Regions from separate parts of the Homo sapiens genome. Here regions 2 and 3 are each linked to region 1. The links are contacts of gene promoters, found by promoter capture Hi-C in human tissues and cell types (Jung and others, 2019). All regions are on one chromosome and are shown on one strand. The core of a region is centred on a gene start or on the middle of the fragment in contact, and the rest is flanking DNA. Distances in the headings are between cores, read along the strand shown.

Region 1 (4,868 bases), core at 1,680-4,179:
TGATGTGGGTGGATCCCTTGAGTCCAGGAGTCCAGGAGTTCCACACCAGCCTGGCCAACACGGCAAAACCCTGTCTCTAGTAAAAATACAAAAATTAGCCGGGCATGGTGGCCTGTGCCTGTAATCCCAGCTACTCAAGAGGCTGAGACAGAAGAATTGCTTGAACCTGGGAAGTGGAGGTTGCAGTGAGCCAAGATCGCGTCACTGCACTCCAGTCTGGGTGACATAGCAAGACCCTGTCTCTAAAACAAAAAACCATGAGAAGCTGAAAGAACTATGGATGAAAGGAAAATAGTTTAGGCTGGGTGCGGTTGTTCACACCTGTAATCCCAGCACTTTGCGAGGCCAAGGTAGGTGGATCATTTGAGGTCAGGAACTCAAAACTAGCCTGGCCAACATGGTGAAATCCCATCTCTACAAAAAAATACAGAAATTAGCCGGGCGTGGTGGTAGTCCCAGCTACCCGGGAGACTGAGGGAGGAACCGCTTGAACCCTGGAGGCAGAGGCTGCAGTGAGCAGATATCATGCCACTGCACTCCAGCCTGGGTGACACAGTGAGACTCTGTCTCCAAAAAAAAAAAAAAAAAAAAAAAAAAAAAAAGTTTATATTTTAGTGCCTCTAAGGGCATTTTTTCCCCTAGGTTTTGAACAAGGGTCCCTGCATTTCCATTTTGCACTGGATCCTGACAATTATGCAGCTGGCCATGCTTCAGTCTATTCTGCAGCAGATTCGGGATTAATTTTCTCAAAATACAGCTTTAATTAGGCCACTCCTCAGCTGAAAGTTCTTCAGTGGCTTCTTATTAGCCTGTAGGATAGAGTCCTGATTCTTCAGTCTAACCTGCAGGGTACTCCGCAATCCACACCCATGCTGTGTCCCCAACCTCCTTTCCCACTAGTCTCCGACTAGTTCTCTCCTGGAGCCAAGCCAGCCACTCCTGGGGTAGACTGTGCTTACTCCTGACTTCACACCTCTGTGCCTTTCATTCCTTTGTCCTGGAAGACTACCTACCCTTCAGAGGCCAGCCCCAACTCCCATTCATTCATTCATTCATTCAATGCATACCATTTTTTTGAGATGGAGTTTTGCTCTTGTCCAGGCTGGAGTGCAGTGACACAATCTCGGCTCACTGCAACCTCCACCTTCCAGGTTCAAGCAATTCTCTTGCCTCAGCCTCCTGAGTAGCTGGGATTACAGGCTCCCACCACCGCACCCGGCTAATTTTTTTAGTTTTAGTAGAGACGCAGTTTCACCATGTTGGCCAGGCTGGTCTTGAACTCCTGACCTCTGGTCTCGAACTCCCTTGCTCAGGTGATCCATTGGCCTCGGCCTCCTATAGAGCTGGGATTACAGGCATGAGCCACTGGGCCTGGCCGAGATAATGATTTTTTTTTTCTCTCTTTTTTTGAGACGAAGTCTCACTCTATTGCCCAAGCTGGAGTGCAATGGCGTGATCTCAGCTCACTGCAAGCTCCGCCTCCCGGGTTCAAGCAATTCTCCTGCTTCAGCCTCCTGAGTAGCTGGGACTACAGGCACCCACCACCATGCCCAGCTAATTTTTTTTTTTTTTTTTATTGAGACGGAAGCTCTGTTGCCCAGGCTGGAGTGCAGTGGAGCGATCTCGGCTCACTGCAAGCTCCGCCTCCCGGGTTCATGCCATTCTCCTGCCTCAGCCTCCCAAGTAGCTGGGACTACAAGCTCCCGCCACGACGCCCAGCTAATTTTTTTTTTTTGTATTTTTAGTAGGGACGGGGTTTCACTGTGTTATCCAGGATGGTCTCGATCTCCTGACCTCGTGATCCACCCACCTCGGCCTCCCAAAGTGCTGGGATTACTGGCGTGAGCCACCGCGCCTGGCCTAATTTTGCATTTTTAAGTAGAGACGGGGTTTCACCATGTGGGCAAGGCTAGTCTCGAACTCCTGACTTCGTGATCTGCCCGCCTCGGCCTCCCAAAATGCTGGGATTACAGGCATAAGCCACCGTGCCCGGCTTGAGATAATGATTCTTAACATGTGGTATGTAGAGCAAGTGTACTCCCGCCCTAGACTGTGAGCCCCGTGAGAGATGTGGCTTCAGTGTAACCTCTCTGGCCTCCCCAGGGCTACAGCACACAGTCTATAGAGGTGCTCAATAAATGTTTGTTGACCCAAGTAGACACATAAGGAGGTGAGTTCCGACGTGGGGGTGGGGGTGCCAGGAGGCAGAGAACCGAAGTAGACCTGGCTGCAGGGCTGGGATCTCAGGGCAGTGCTGGGGACTGGGAATGTGGTGTTGAGAGGGCTTCAGGGAGACGTGATGGGAAGATGGGGAAGCCTCTGCACGTGGACAGAGCCAGGTGGTGTGGACAGGGGCTGTGAGATTGGAGAAGGAGGCGTCTGGGGGACTGGTAGCGGCTCCCAACAGGGGAACGTCCCTCTGGGGGTGGCCTTTATCCATCTCTGCGGGGCCTGTCCTAGCTTCCCTCCTGGCTCGGCCAGCCTCCCGGCTGGTCTCTTCGCTCTCTTTCTTGATCTCTAGCTCTTTATTCCTCTGACATTCTGCCCCATCTGCTCCCGGACTCTTCCGCCGCATCTGTATCTTAGTCTCTTTCTAACTCCCTGCCTGGGGCCCCCACCTTTGAGCATATATCGGCTTCTCTCTCTGCCGTTGTGTTTCTCTGGGGTTATCTTTCCCTCTACTCCGCCCGGACACGCCCTCTATCTCTTCCTCCCACCCTGTCCCAGTCTAGTACCTGGGGTGGGGGTAATGGAGAGACAGCTAGGTCCCTAAGAGAAGTCAGGGGGGCGGGCCCAACCTCTCCATATTTACATATGTATGAGGTCGCCTGGGCCAGTGGCGAGGAGGCGGAGCTTCTGGGGGTGGGAAGGGGGCGGGCACCCCCAGAGCCGCAGAGTATAAAGACCGCGCTCGGCGACCGCGGGCCTCGCACTGCTGAGGAGCGGAGCCTCCGCCTGGGGGGCCCCCCATCCCTGGCTGTCCCCCAGCTGCGCGTCCCCGCCCCACCCCCGCGGCTGAGCCACCACCGGTGCAGTGGTCTCCGCTTGGCGGAGCGAGCCTTGAGCTTCGTTCCACAGCTTCTTTGCATCTTGGATTTCGGGGCGGCCCCCTCCCCCACCTCTCTCTGCCTTTTTGTACCCCGCTTTTTTTCTGCGTTCTGCTCGGTTTTTGTAGCCGTCTGTTTTTGCACCCCATTTCGTTTTGTTTCTAGACGGTTTGGTGGGGGGTGAAGCTGCATTCATACCCCTTCCTCTTGTTATTCTCCCCTGCTCTGACAGCACCCCTTTTCATCGCAGTTGGGGGGCCTAGGATCGGTGCATCTTCCGCCGCGCTGCCAGCACCCCGCAGCGCGTGGTCGTGCACCCCGGAATCTGCAGCAGCTGCATATCTGAGGGGGGTCTCCTTTGCCCGCGCCGCCTTCGCTCCCCGTGCTTTTGGGTGTGTGGAGGGCTTCAGCGCGCGGCGCCCCCGCTTCTCCGCAACCCCCCGCCCCGCGCCCGGACTCGCCCCGCGCCACCAAGATGGTCATCCAGAAAGAGAAGAAGAGCTGCGGGCAGGTGGTTGAGGAGTGGAAGGAGTTCGTGTGGAACCCGAGGACGCACCAGTTTATGGGCCGCACCGGGACCAGCTGGGGTACGCAGGGCCGGCACGCAAGGGGCGGGGGAAAGCCGCGGGGCGACGCCTCGGGGGCGCAGGGTCCCGCCGACGCGGCCCCAGCTCCCCTCCCGGGTCCCCGGCGTCCAGCCTCCCTGCCGGGCTCTGGGCTGGGAGGGGGCCGAATCGCCAGTCTAATCTCCCCGGCTGGCCGTGCGGAGGCGGAGAAAGTAGGTCACAGCCGCCTTCCCGCCCCCCGCGGAGCCCCCTCGGGCGGGGGGTCGCCAGCTCCGCCTGCGTGTCCGCGCCGGCGCTCACACTCCCTCTCGGGGCCTGTCCGCTCCACACGGGCGTCCCCCACCTCCAAAGAGCGCCCCTTCCCTCCCTCCGGCTCTCACTAGCTCCGCAGCCCCGTCTATTTTTAGCTCGTGCCCACCCCCTGGACCCTGGGAACGTTCATGAGGGGGCGGGTCTTGGGGGGTGTGTTAGGGGGGTTCTTCACGGCGGAAGTTGTCTGTATCCCACCGCCTGGCCTTGGGAGCCTTCTGGGACTGCTTTGTGGGTTGGGGGGCTGCTGATAGTATGAGTTTTACCGAGGCTGCAGGTTTTGCTCCCATGTCGGTGACGGAGGGAGGAGTGGTCGCTGTGGTGATTTGTGTGCATCAGCCAGCCAGGTGTCTGTGACAGTCGGATGACTTGGAAGCCTCCCCAGGCTGACCATGGCAGGACTCAGGGAGCTGTAGTGGTCGGGGGTTGGGGGGGTGGAGGGGGTCTGGTGACCGGCACAGGTGCAGGTGAGGGGTGGAATTCTTCCAAGAGGGATGGTCAAGCTGGGACGTTGAGACACAGGGGACAGAGGACACTGTGTGACACGATTTACAATCTTTCCACACTGGGCACCGTCCCCATCAGTCCACCCATTCGGGGCCTACACGAAGTGGGTCCCATGCAATCCATTCCCTCAGGGAACTCAAACTCCAGCCCCTGGGATGAGAAGAATCCAGCAATGCTTGGGAGAGCCAGAGGACTTCATGGAAGAAGTGTCCTCTGAGATGGAAGGATTGGGAGTCCAGGGTGGTGGGAACAGCCGGCCCTTGGGTCCTTACTTCAGGCGGGGGAGCCATGGAGAGATCCCACCAAGGGAAGGCTGTGGGAGATTCTGCCTTTCCTCCCTGCCTCTGCCCAGGGTGCTGGGTGTGAACTGAGGGTGGGGTGACTGTTGAAGGTTCTAACAAGCCGTCTCTGAGAGATTTGTAGCTAGGCTAGTGTTAGG
Region 2 (4,546 bases), core at 1-2,500, 370 kb before region 1:
AGGAGGAATCGAGCCTGACTTCTACCATAGGGGTGACTGGGCGGGTAATTCATTGAAATAAGGAAGTTAGGAGGAGGAGCAGGTTTGGACATGCTGATCACTAGAGCTGCCACATCCGGGCGGTAACGAACACCTGGATCTGCAGCTCCAGAGAAGGGCCTGGGTCAGATGTCACTGAAGCCCTATGGTGGCGGAAAGGCGAGAAATAGTGGGTTGAGATTCCAAGTGCAATCCACTGCGGCTCCTCGCTCGCCCTCCAGGTGGCAGCACAACCCTGCGCTTCCGAAGCCCGTTTTCTGAGCCAGACACTCTCCACGCTCTGGGTATTTCGGCTTCTCTCTCCCCACACGCCGACCCTAGGTCGCGCACTTTCTGCCTGGCAGAATTTGGCCGAGGATCCAAACCCGGAGCAGCCTCCAGAGAGCGTGTCGTTCACGCGGCCAGCATATGCTCAGAGACCTCAGAGGCTCAGAGACCTCAGGGCTGGTGGTGTGGTCGGTTGTGACCACTTGTCCCTCGGACCGGCTCCAGGAACCAACCTGGGGAATGTGTGTAGGGGAAGGGCGGGATAGACAGTGCCCGGAGCAGGGAGGCGCTGAAAGACAGGACCAAGCAGCCCGGCCACCAGACCCGTTGTGGGAACGGAATTTCCTGGCCCCCAGGGCCACACTCGCGTGGGAAGCATGTCGCGGACTCTTTAAGGCGTCATCTCCCTGTCTCTCCGCCCCCGCCTGGGACAGGCCGGGACGCCCGGGACCTGACATTTGGAGGCTCCCAACGTGGGAGCTAAAAATAGCAGCCCCGGGTTACTTTGGGGCATTGCTCCTCTCCCAACCCGCGCGCCGGCTCGCGAGCCGTCTCAGGCCGCTGGAGTTTCCCCGGGGCAAGTACACCTGGCCCGTCCTCTCCTCTCAGACCCCACTGTCCAGACCCGCAGAGTTTAAGATGCTTCTGCAGCCCGGGATCCTAGCTGGTGGGCGGAGTCCTAACACGTGGGTGGGCGGGGCCTTTTGTTCCAGGGACTCTTTTCTCAAAACTTCCCAGTCGGAGGCTGGCGGGAACCCGAGAGGCGTGTCTCGCCAGCCACGCGGAGGGGCGTGGCCTCATTGGCCCGCCCCACCAACTCCAGCCAAACTCTAAACCCCAGGCGGAGGGGGCGTGGCCTTCTGGGGTGTGCGGGCTCCTGGCCAATGGGTGCTGTGAAGGGCGTGGCCCGCGGGGGCAGGAGCGAGGTGGCGGGGGCTTCTCGCGTCTTTTCCCCCAGCCCCGCTCCACCAGATCCGCGGGAGCCCCACTGCTCTCCGGGTCCTTGGCTTGTGGCTGTGGGTCCCATCGGGCCCGCCCTCGCACGTCACTCCGGGACCCCCGCGGCCTCCGCAGGTTCTGCGCTCCAGGCCGGAGTCAGAGACTCCAGGATCGGTTCTTTCATCTTCGCCGCCCCTGCGCGTCCAGCTCTTCTAAGACGAGATGCCGTCGGGCTTCCAACAGATAGGCTCCGAAGTAGGATTCATCATGAGGGGGCGGGGCGGGGGGGCACGGGTCCCGCTTTTCTTGGGCTGGGGTCGCGGTTGGGGTCAGCTGGGGGTGGTTCCTGCGCAGGCGCAGGGGGTGAAGGTAGGGGGCTGGCTATTTATACCCGGCCTGGACAACCCGTGACTGTGAGATTCCAATCCTACCAAAAGGCAGAGTGGGTCTGGAGGGCCTTTCGGGGCACAGGCAGCAAGTGGATTCTGCGAGCCAGGGTTCACCCCCTTGCCTAGTAGGCGGCGCGGCGCTCCGGAATCGGGGACACCCTGCCCTCGATCCGACTCGGGAAAGCAGATCCAGGCGGGTCTTGCCCTCCGGGAGCTGTCCGTCCGTCTTCGCTCACGGGCAGTGTTTCGAGGACCGGAGGCTCTCCGTGGGCCCCCACCCCCACTCCTGGCCGCCCTCCAGGACGCTGAACTTTCCCTTGGCCCCATGGTTGGTGGAGGGGCAGAGGGGACTGTCAGCCCCCCCTCCTCCAGCTCAGGTTTCCGCTTGGAGACAGTCTGTGCCGCCAGCGAGCGGCCACCACTGCCACCGCCCCTCACACTACCTTCCTGCCCTCCTCCCCTGGGCATGGCTCTCCCAGGCAGAACCCCTGGACGGCCCTCCCTGCACGGAGGTTAGAGGGGGAGGGCAGGCCACGACGTAGATAGAGAAGGCCACCCCTAGATGACCGGGATGTCCTTTCTGGAACAGCACTTCTTGGTCCTGTTGGGGGCCTCCTGGAGCTGGCTGACAGAACCCCCAGAGGGGAGGGAAGAGGACAGTGGCTGATGATAATAATGCACGTGTTAATTTATGAAACCAGCACTGTCAAGGATATTGTTAACATGTGATGTTGATTTTCACAACACTCTCACAGATAGGTAGGCAAGGCAGGCAACATCACCCCCATCTCACAGAGGACACTCAGGTTCGGGGCAGGGAAGTGACTTGGCCAAGGTCACACAAATCTGAGCTCTTAAGGCCAAGCCTGTCTCAAGGTCACAGAAGAATTTTGAGACAAGTTCTCAAACATTTCTCTGCCTTATGGACCCAAACATCCAGTTTCTCCTTTATGCCCAGGTTGCAGTTCAGCTCCTGTTTACATTGAGATCTTTGTGCAATTCCTAATATGGCCCAGTTTCCCTCACCCAACATGTTGGGTGGAGCCCAGTATCTTCAGGCTCCAGCTGGGCCCGGGCCCCTAGCGGAAGGAAAAAAATCATGGTTCCATGTGACATGCTGTGTCTTTGTGTCTGCCTGTTCAGGATGGGGAACCCCCTCAGCAGCGAGTGACTGGGACCCTGGTCCTTGCTGTGTTCTCTGCGGTGCTTGGCTCCCTGCAGTTTGGGTACAACATTGGGGTCATCAATGCCCCTCAGAAGGTGAGGGCCTGCAGCTGGCAGGGTGGGGGTACCCAAACGAGGAGGACAGGTGTCTCGGGGGTGGTGGAAAGGGGACGGTCTGCAGGAAATCTGTCCTCTGCTGTCCCCCAGGTGATTGAACAGAGCTACAATGAGACGTGGCTGGGGAGGCAGGGGCCTGAGGGACCCAGCTCCATCCCTCCAGGCACCCTCACCACCCTCTGGGCCCTCTCCGTGGCCATCTTTTCCGTGGGCGGCATGATTTCCTCCTTCCTCATTGGTATCATCTCTCAGTGGCTTGGAAGGTTCGCAGCTGGAGGGCAGGGGTGGGGGAAACAGGAAGGGAGCCACTGCTGGGTGCCCTCACCCTCACAGCCTCACTCTGTCTGCCTGCCAGGAAAAGGGCCATGCTGGTCAACAATGTCCTGGCGGTGCTGGGGGGCAGCCTCATGGGCCTGGCCAATGCTGCTGCCTCCTATGAAATGCTCATCCTTGGACGATTCCTCATTGGCGCCTACTCAGGTACTCACGGGCACCACAGCCCTGCCTAGCGCCCTGTTCTCTTTCACCATGCCTGGGCTTTCAGATGGGAATGGACACCTGCCCTCAGCCCTCTCTTCTTCCCTCGCCCAGGGCTGACATCAGGGCTGGTGCCCATGTACGTGGGGGAGATTGCTCCCACTCACCTGCGGGGCGCCCTGGGGACGCTCAACCAACTGGCCATTGTTATCGGCATTCTGATCGCCCAGGTGACCGGAGCAAGCCTCATGGGTGCCTGGGCAGTGGTTAGAGTGGGGCTCTGGAGAATATGGTGGGCTTCCAAGGTAAGGCAGAAGGGCTGAGTGACCTGCCTTCTTTCCCAACCTTCTCCCACAGGTGCTGGGCTTGGAGTCCCTCCTGGGCACTGCCAGCCTGTGGCCACTGCTCCTGGGCCTCACAGTGCTACCTGCCCTCCTGCAGCTGGTCCTGCTGCCCTTCTGTCCCGAGAGCCCCCGCTACCTCTACATCATCCAGAATCTCGAGGGGCCTGCCAGAAAGAGTAAGCTCTCCCGCTGCAGCCTGGCCCAGGCCCATGCCTCCGCCTCATCTTGCTAGCACCTGGCTTCCTCTCAGGTCCCCTCAGGCCTGACCTTCCCTTCTCCAGGTCTGAAGCGCCTGACAGGCTGGGCCGATGTTTCTGGAGTGCTGGCTGAGCTGAAGGATGAGAAGCGGAAGCTGGAGCGTGAGCGGCCACTGTCCCTGCTCCAGCTCCTGGGCAGCCGTACCCACCGGCAGCCCCTGATCATTGCGGTCGTGCTGCAGCTGAGCCAGCAGCTCTCTGGCATCAATGCTGTATGTGTGGAGCAGCCTCCAGGCAGGGCACAGCCCCGGGAGGGTAGACGAGAGTGGGGAGCAAACCCCCTCCACCAACACCCAGGGTAGGGCCAGCCTGTTGTGGCTGGAGTAGAGGAAGGGGCATTCCTGCCATCACTTCTTCTTCTCCCCCACCTCTAGGTTTTCTATTATTCGACCAGCATCTTCGAGACAGCAGGGGTAGGCCAGCCTGCCTATGCCACCATAGGAGCTGGTGTGGTCAACACAGTCTTCACCTTGGTCTCGGTAACTGCTCACCTCTGGAATGGCCCGAGCCACTGGCTTCACCTCCCTGGGTGTCCCGGAGGTCCTGCTCTTGG
Region 3 (4,777 bases), core at 115-2,614, 440 kb after region 1:
AGGATATTGACCTGATCATTGAGCTTCCTTCTGACTTCTCCAGCTTGGGGGTCTCCTACTGGATTCCTCTACCCAGGGCTATGTAGGACTCCAGCCCCTCCTTCTCTCCATCCCCAGCTCCTGTCTTCTCCCACTCCCCTCTCCAGGCACCTGAGGTTGCAGGAACCCTTCAGACCCCTGGGGACTTGGGTACCACTCTACAGTTTTCGAGTGGGGAGAGGCCCAGCCAGCCCCTTCTCCCATTCATCAATGAAGATGCAGATATTCAGAATGGCCACATAGATAGAGTGACCTATTAAGGTCGCCTAGCAGCAGGTGGCTGGGTCTGACTGAAAATCAGGTCTGAGGACCCGCAAAGCGTGCCTTCCACTGGACAGGCTGGTCTGATGCCATTTTAAGTCACAGAGAATCCAGTGCAAATGTGAGACAGTTAGGAGGCAGCTGAATTAGGAAGAGTGACTGAGAATGGAAGAGAGAGGGATGCGGGAGAGGGGGTAAGACAGAAAGGGGAGGAGAGCAAAGGGGAAGGAAAGCAGGTGGAAAGGATTGAGAAAAGAGAGATGCAGGATAGGCAGAGACAGGGAGAGAGGGCTGAGGAAGAGGGAGAGAGAAGAAAAGGATGGGGAGGGAGATGAGGAATGCCTGAAAGGGTTAGAGATGAAGGAGCAGGATGGAGAAGGATGGCCCAGAGATCTGGGACATGGGCGAGGGGCTGGAAGCCAGCTCTGGACAAGGCGTGTAGAGCCACTGGGGAGCCCACTGCCTTCGGAGCTGTGCCTCAGCTCTCCAGCCTCTCCTCGCCAAGCTCAGCTCACCTGGCTCCCCCTGCGCACCTTCACCCCTCCCGGGGCCACAAAGACACACAGACACACACAGACACACACAGACACACACACACACACACACAGACACACACACACACACACACACACACACACTCTTACCGCCCCAGTTGCAAAGTCTCTCCCAAAGTGGTTCAGCAGCTGCTTATGGCTCTCTCCTTGTGTCCCCACAATGGTCAGTGAGATGGAGTCCCGTGTTCCCGACAAGAGGTCGGTGCCTGTGGCCACCCTGACTTTGTAGGTGGCCATGGCTGCTCTTCAGGAGGCAAGAGGGGCACTCAGTCCCAGACACCGTGGAGGGGCCACACGAAGGCCCAAGGCAGGCAAGAGAAGCCAGGCACAGAGTGGAGTGGACAGGGCTGGCCTCCGAGGTGCAGTGGTGAGGTGGCGAGGTGGGGTGACTAGGCCTGCCAGCCAAATTCTGGAAAAGCTGCTGCCCTTGGTGGCCGGGGTGGGTGCCGGGCAGGCCCAGGCGGAGCCCAGCTGGTGGTGAGTGAGCAGGTGTCTGGGCTCCAAGCCTTCTGGGAGCTGGTGGGGAGGAAGAGCAGGCAGGGCACTGGGCCTGCCTCTGAAAGGGCGGATAGAAGATGCCGTGGATGAAGGCGCCTTCAGGGTGGGGGAGCCAGTCCAGCCTGAGCCAGGGCCCTAGGGAAGTTGCGGGAGGGGGCAGGGTGTGGTCCCCAGATCTTTATCAGACTAATAAGCTCCTTCCTCCTGCCAGTCCCCATTGGCTACAGTGCCAGGCACCCCTACTAAGCAGGGCCATGGGCAGTGAGTGACTTGCATTGGTTCTGAGGCCACTGGTGGGCGGGGGAGGGGAGGGGGAGGGGCACTAAGTGGCAGCGCAGCTGGCCAGCCTCCAGGCCATTCCTCTCTGGGAAATGGGACAGGTAGTGGCCACAGTGAGAAAGCTGGCCTGTCCTTCTGCCCCAGGGCCCAGAGTCTGTGACTGGAAGGGTGGGAGGTGTTGAAGCTAGGGCTCGGGGACCACATGGGTGCCCAAAGGCCTGAAGATGCTGCGGGGAGGAACGATCAGGGTAGGAGAAGGGGATCTGTTGCTTCCTGTGGGGCCAGGATCCACTGGTGAGGGATTGGAGTTGGATATAAAATCAGAAGCCCAAAAAAAAAAAAAAAAAAACTAAATTAGAAGACAGAGTGAAATCTGGGGCATAAGAATTAAGTTAAATAGCTGGGCGTGGTGGCTCACGCCTGTAATCCCAGCACTTTAGAAAGCCAAGGCAGGTGGGTCACCTGAGCTCAAGAGTTCGAGACCAGCCTGGCCAACATGGTGAAACCTTGTCTCTACTAAAAATACAAAAATTAGCCAGGCGTGGTGGCATGCGCCTGTAGTCCCAGCTACTTGGGAGGCTGAGGCAGGAGAATCGCTTGAACTCAGGAGGCGGAAGTTGCAGTGAGTTGAGATCGTGCCACCGCACTCCAGCCTGGGCAACAGAGCAAGACTCCGTCTCCAAAAAAAAAAGACAAAAGAATTAAGTTAAATAATGGATTAATATGATCAATATTTTGTGGTATAATCATAAAATAGAATTCTACCCAGGAATAAAAAGAATGAACTGCAATGCGGATGAGTCTCACAAAGATGATACTGAGCAAAAAGAGCCAGACATTAAAGGGGATACGTTCTGTTATCCATTGATAGGAACTTCCAGAACCAGCAAAACTGAGCAATTCTCAGACAACCTCTACTGGTGAGTATCCCTGGCAGAGGGAGGCCATATAGGCTGCTGGAGGTGTTCTTATCTTGATCTGAGGGGCGTCTAGGGTACTTCATTCATTTCATTATGTGTTATCCTTTAATTTCATAAAGTACATACCCTCACTTCCCTCCCAAAAAAGAATGAAGCTAGGAAGAGGGCTGGAGGCAGGGCTGAGCTCCAGTGGAACTGTGTTTGTTGGGAACCAGGTCGTTCCTCCCTCAGATATGTAGTGAGCACGGTGCACGGCGTTCTAGGCACTGCAGAGGCAGAGAAGAAATGAAACATACATGGAGCTTACGGAATAGCTGGGAAAGAAGTGAAAGAAACAGTAAACAAGAATTTGTTCACTATAATTTTGGATACTAAGTGCTCTGAAGAAAATAAGCGTGGGAGGTTGGGATTGGGAACTAGTTGCTGATAGAATCACAGAAGTCAGAGCCGCAGGATAGGGAGAAGGTGTTAGGAGTAAGGTGAAGAGCATTATGAGAGAGTCAGAGATAGACTCTCCAAAGATAGGATTTGGGACCCAGGGAGAGTGAGGAGGCAGGCACGTTCCTATTCCCTTTTTCTGGACCTGTCCTCTTTCCTTTCACCTCCGAGGAGCAGCTTCTGTCAACCAGGAAGCATAGCCCTGCTTTCCTCCCTGATGGCACGCTTCCATCACCATCGAAGGAAGGTCATTCAATGCCCAGGCCAAGTTAGGGTCAGAGGGGGCTGGGATTGTGAGATGAAGAGAAGGTTCCAGTAGGTTCCAGACTGGATGTGGAATGGGGTCGAAACTGCAATTCAGGTTTAGGTTAGAGACACAGATGTGGCTGGAGTTGGGGATTGAAATGATCTTTTCCAGACCCAAATCTGTTCACATCACTCTCTATGTTCCCTCCTCCCAACCCTGATCAAGCCTGGCAGTGGCTCCTCTTTACCTTTGGGACAGTGACACCATCCCCTCCCGTGGCCCCCACGGCCTGCCTGATTGGCTTCACCCCTCACATTCCCCTTTGCTCTCTTCTGTCTGGGACCACGTGCCTTTCATTCATTCATCAACAGACACTGGCCGAACCCCTACTGTGTGTTCAGCGCTGTGTCAGGTCCTGAAAATACAATGCGATCAAAGCAAACCCCTGCACCCATGGAGCTTGCCTTCAAGTGAGGGAAGCAGACAATATTACCTAGTAACCAAATACATTAAATAGTATGTTAAATAGTGATAAGTGCTGAAGAGAAAAGAGAGAACAGGGAAGGATAATATAAAAAATAGAGGAGTGCCGGGCATGGTGGCTCATGCCTGTAATCCCAGCACTTTGGGAGGCTGAGGTGGGCGGATCACCTGAGGTCAGGAGTTCGGGACCAGCCTGACCAACATGGAGTAACCCCGTCTCTACTAAAAATAAAAATTAGCCGGGCATGGTGGCGCATGCCTGTAATCCCAGCTACTCGGGGGCTGAGGCAGGAGAATAGCTTGAACCCAGGAAGCAGAGGTTGCAGTGAGCCAAGGTCATGCCATTGCTATCAAGCCTGGGCAACAAAAGCGAAAATCCATCTCAGAAAAAAGAAAAGGAGGATATTTTAGATACAGAGTGGCCAAGGAGGGCTCCTTGGGAAGAAGACTTTTGAGTAAAGACCTGAAGGAAGTGAAGTCAGCTCGTCACCATCCCAGGGCCTTGGCACATGCTGTTCCCTCTCTACCTCTCAAACTGAGGTCACGTTTCCTCTTCCTCCTGATCTTAGCTCAATAATTGCTTTTTCCAGGAAAGCCAAATTTCACTATACATGGCTCTCACAGCACTATAGCTAACATCTTTGATTGATGTCTGTTTTCTCTAATAAATTAGTCCATACTTTTTTTTGGTTTTGTCCCCATCTCCTGGTGTCATACTTGGTACCTGGGAGACACCGAAAACATAGTTGAATGGGTTAATGACAAGGACAAGGTCAGGGCTGGGGATTGAATCGATGATGGCTTTGGAGTTATGGTGAAGATCCGAAGAGAGCTGACTTGGGCTCAGGGTGAGAGAAGGGGCAAGGCGTGGTGTAGGGGAGGGAAAGGGGTTGGGTGGGGAGGGAGGGAGGAGAGGGGAGAAGGCTGAGGATGAGGGTTGTGCCCAGCTCTGGGTGGCAGGGCTGGCTGTCCTGGGCTGCAGACAGAAGCCGTCCAGCTGGATCTCCCCCCTGGGATCTCCCTCCTCAACCACCTCGATGACTCTTGGAGGATGCTGG

Evidence for each region. Contacts are between HindIII fragments. The study calls those that stand out against the background at their distance.
Region 2: a contact is called between the fragment with the promoter of SLC2A4 here and the fragment with the promoter of ATP1B2 in region 1, in 2 of the 25 tissues and cell types used here (liver and small bowel).
Region 3: a contact is called between the fragment with the promoter of ALOX12B here and the fragment with the promoter of ATP1B2 in region 1, in 1 of the 25 tissues and cell types used here (stomach).

The regions. Positions count from the first base shown.
Region 1 is chr17:7,647,997-7,652,864 of GRCh38, forward strand. ATP1B2 (ATPase Na+/K+ transporting subunit beta 2) reads left to right here and starts at 2,930. Exons shown (of 7, transcript NM_001678.5): 1 at 2,930-3,634. The coding sequence starts at 3,523. RefSeq lists silencers at 1-93, 2,840-2,989 and enhancers at 1,582-2,082, 2,083-2,583, 2,858-3,500. The HindIII fragment of the contact is 20,754 bases long and covers 1-4,868 here.
Region 2 is chr17:7,280,468-7,285,013 of GRCh38, forward strand. SLC2A4 (solute carrier family 2 member 4) reads left to right here and starts at 1,251. Exons shown (of 11, transcript NM_001042.3): 1 at 1,251-1,500; 2 at 2,778-2,894; 3 at 3,006-3,178; 4 at 3,271-3,395; 5 at 3,507-3,622; 6 at 3,750-3,912; 7 at 4,018-4,205; 8 at 4,368-4,472. The coding sequence starts at 1,468. RefSeq lists a silencer at 1,215-1,364 and an enhancer at 1,497-2,484. The HindIII fragment of the contact is 23,134 bases long and covers 1-4,546 here.
Region 3 is chr17:8,086,352-8,091,128 of GRCh38, forward strand. ALOX12B (arachidonate 12-lipoxygenase, 12R type) reads right to left here and starts at 1,365. Exons shown (of 15, transcript NM_001139.3): 1 at 945-1,365. The coding sequence starts at 1,091. MIR4314 (microRNA 4314) reads left to right here and starts at 1,705; the gene lies at 1,705-1,796. RefSeq lists an enhancer at 393-1,141. The HindIII fragment of the contact is 32,393 bases long and covers 1-4,777 here.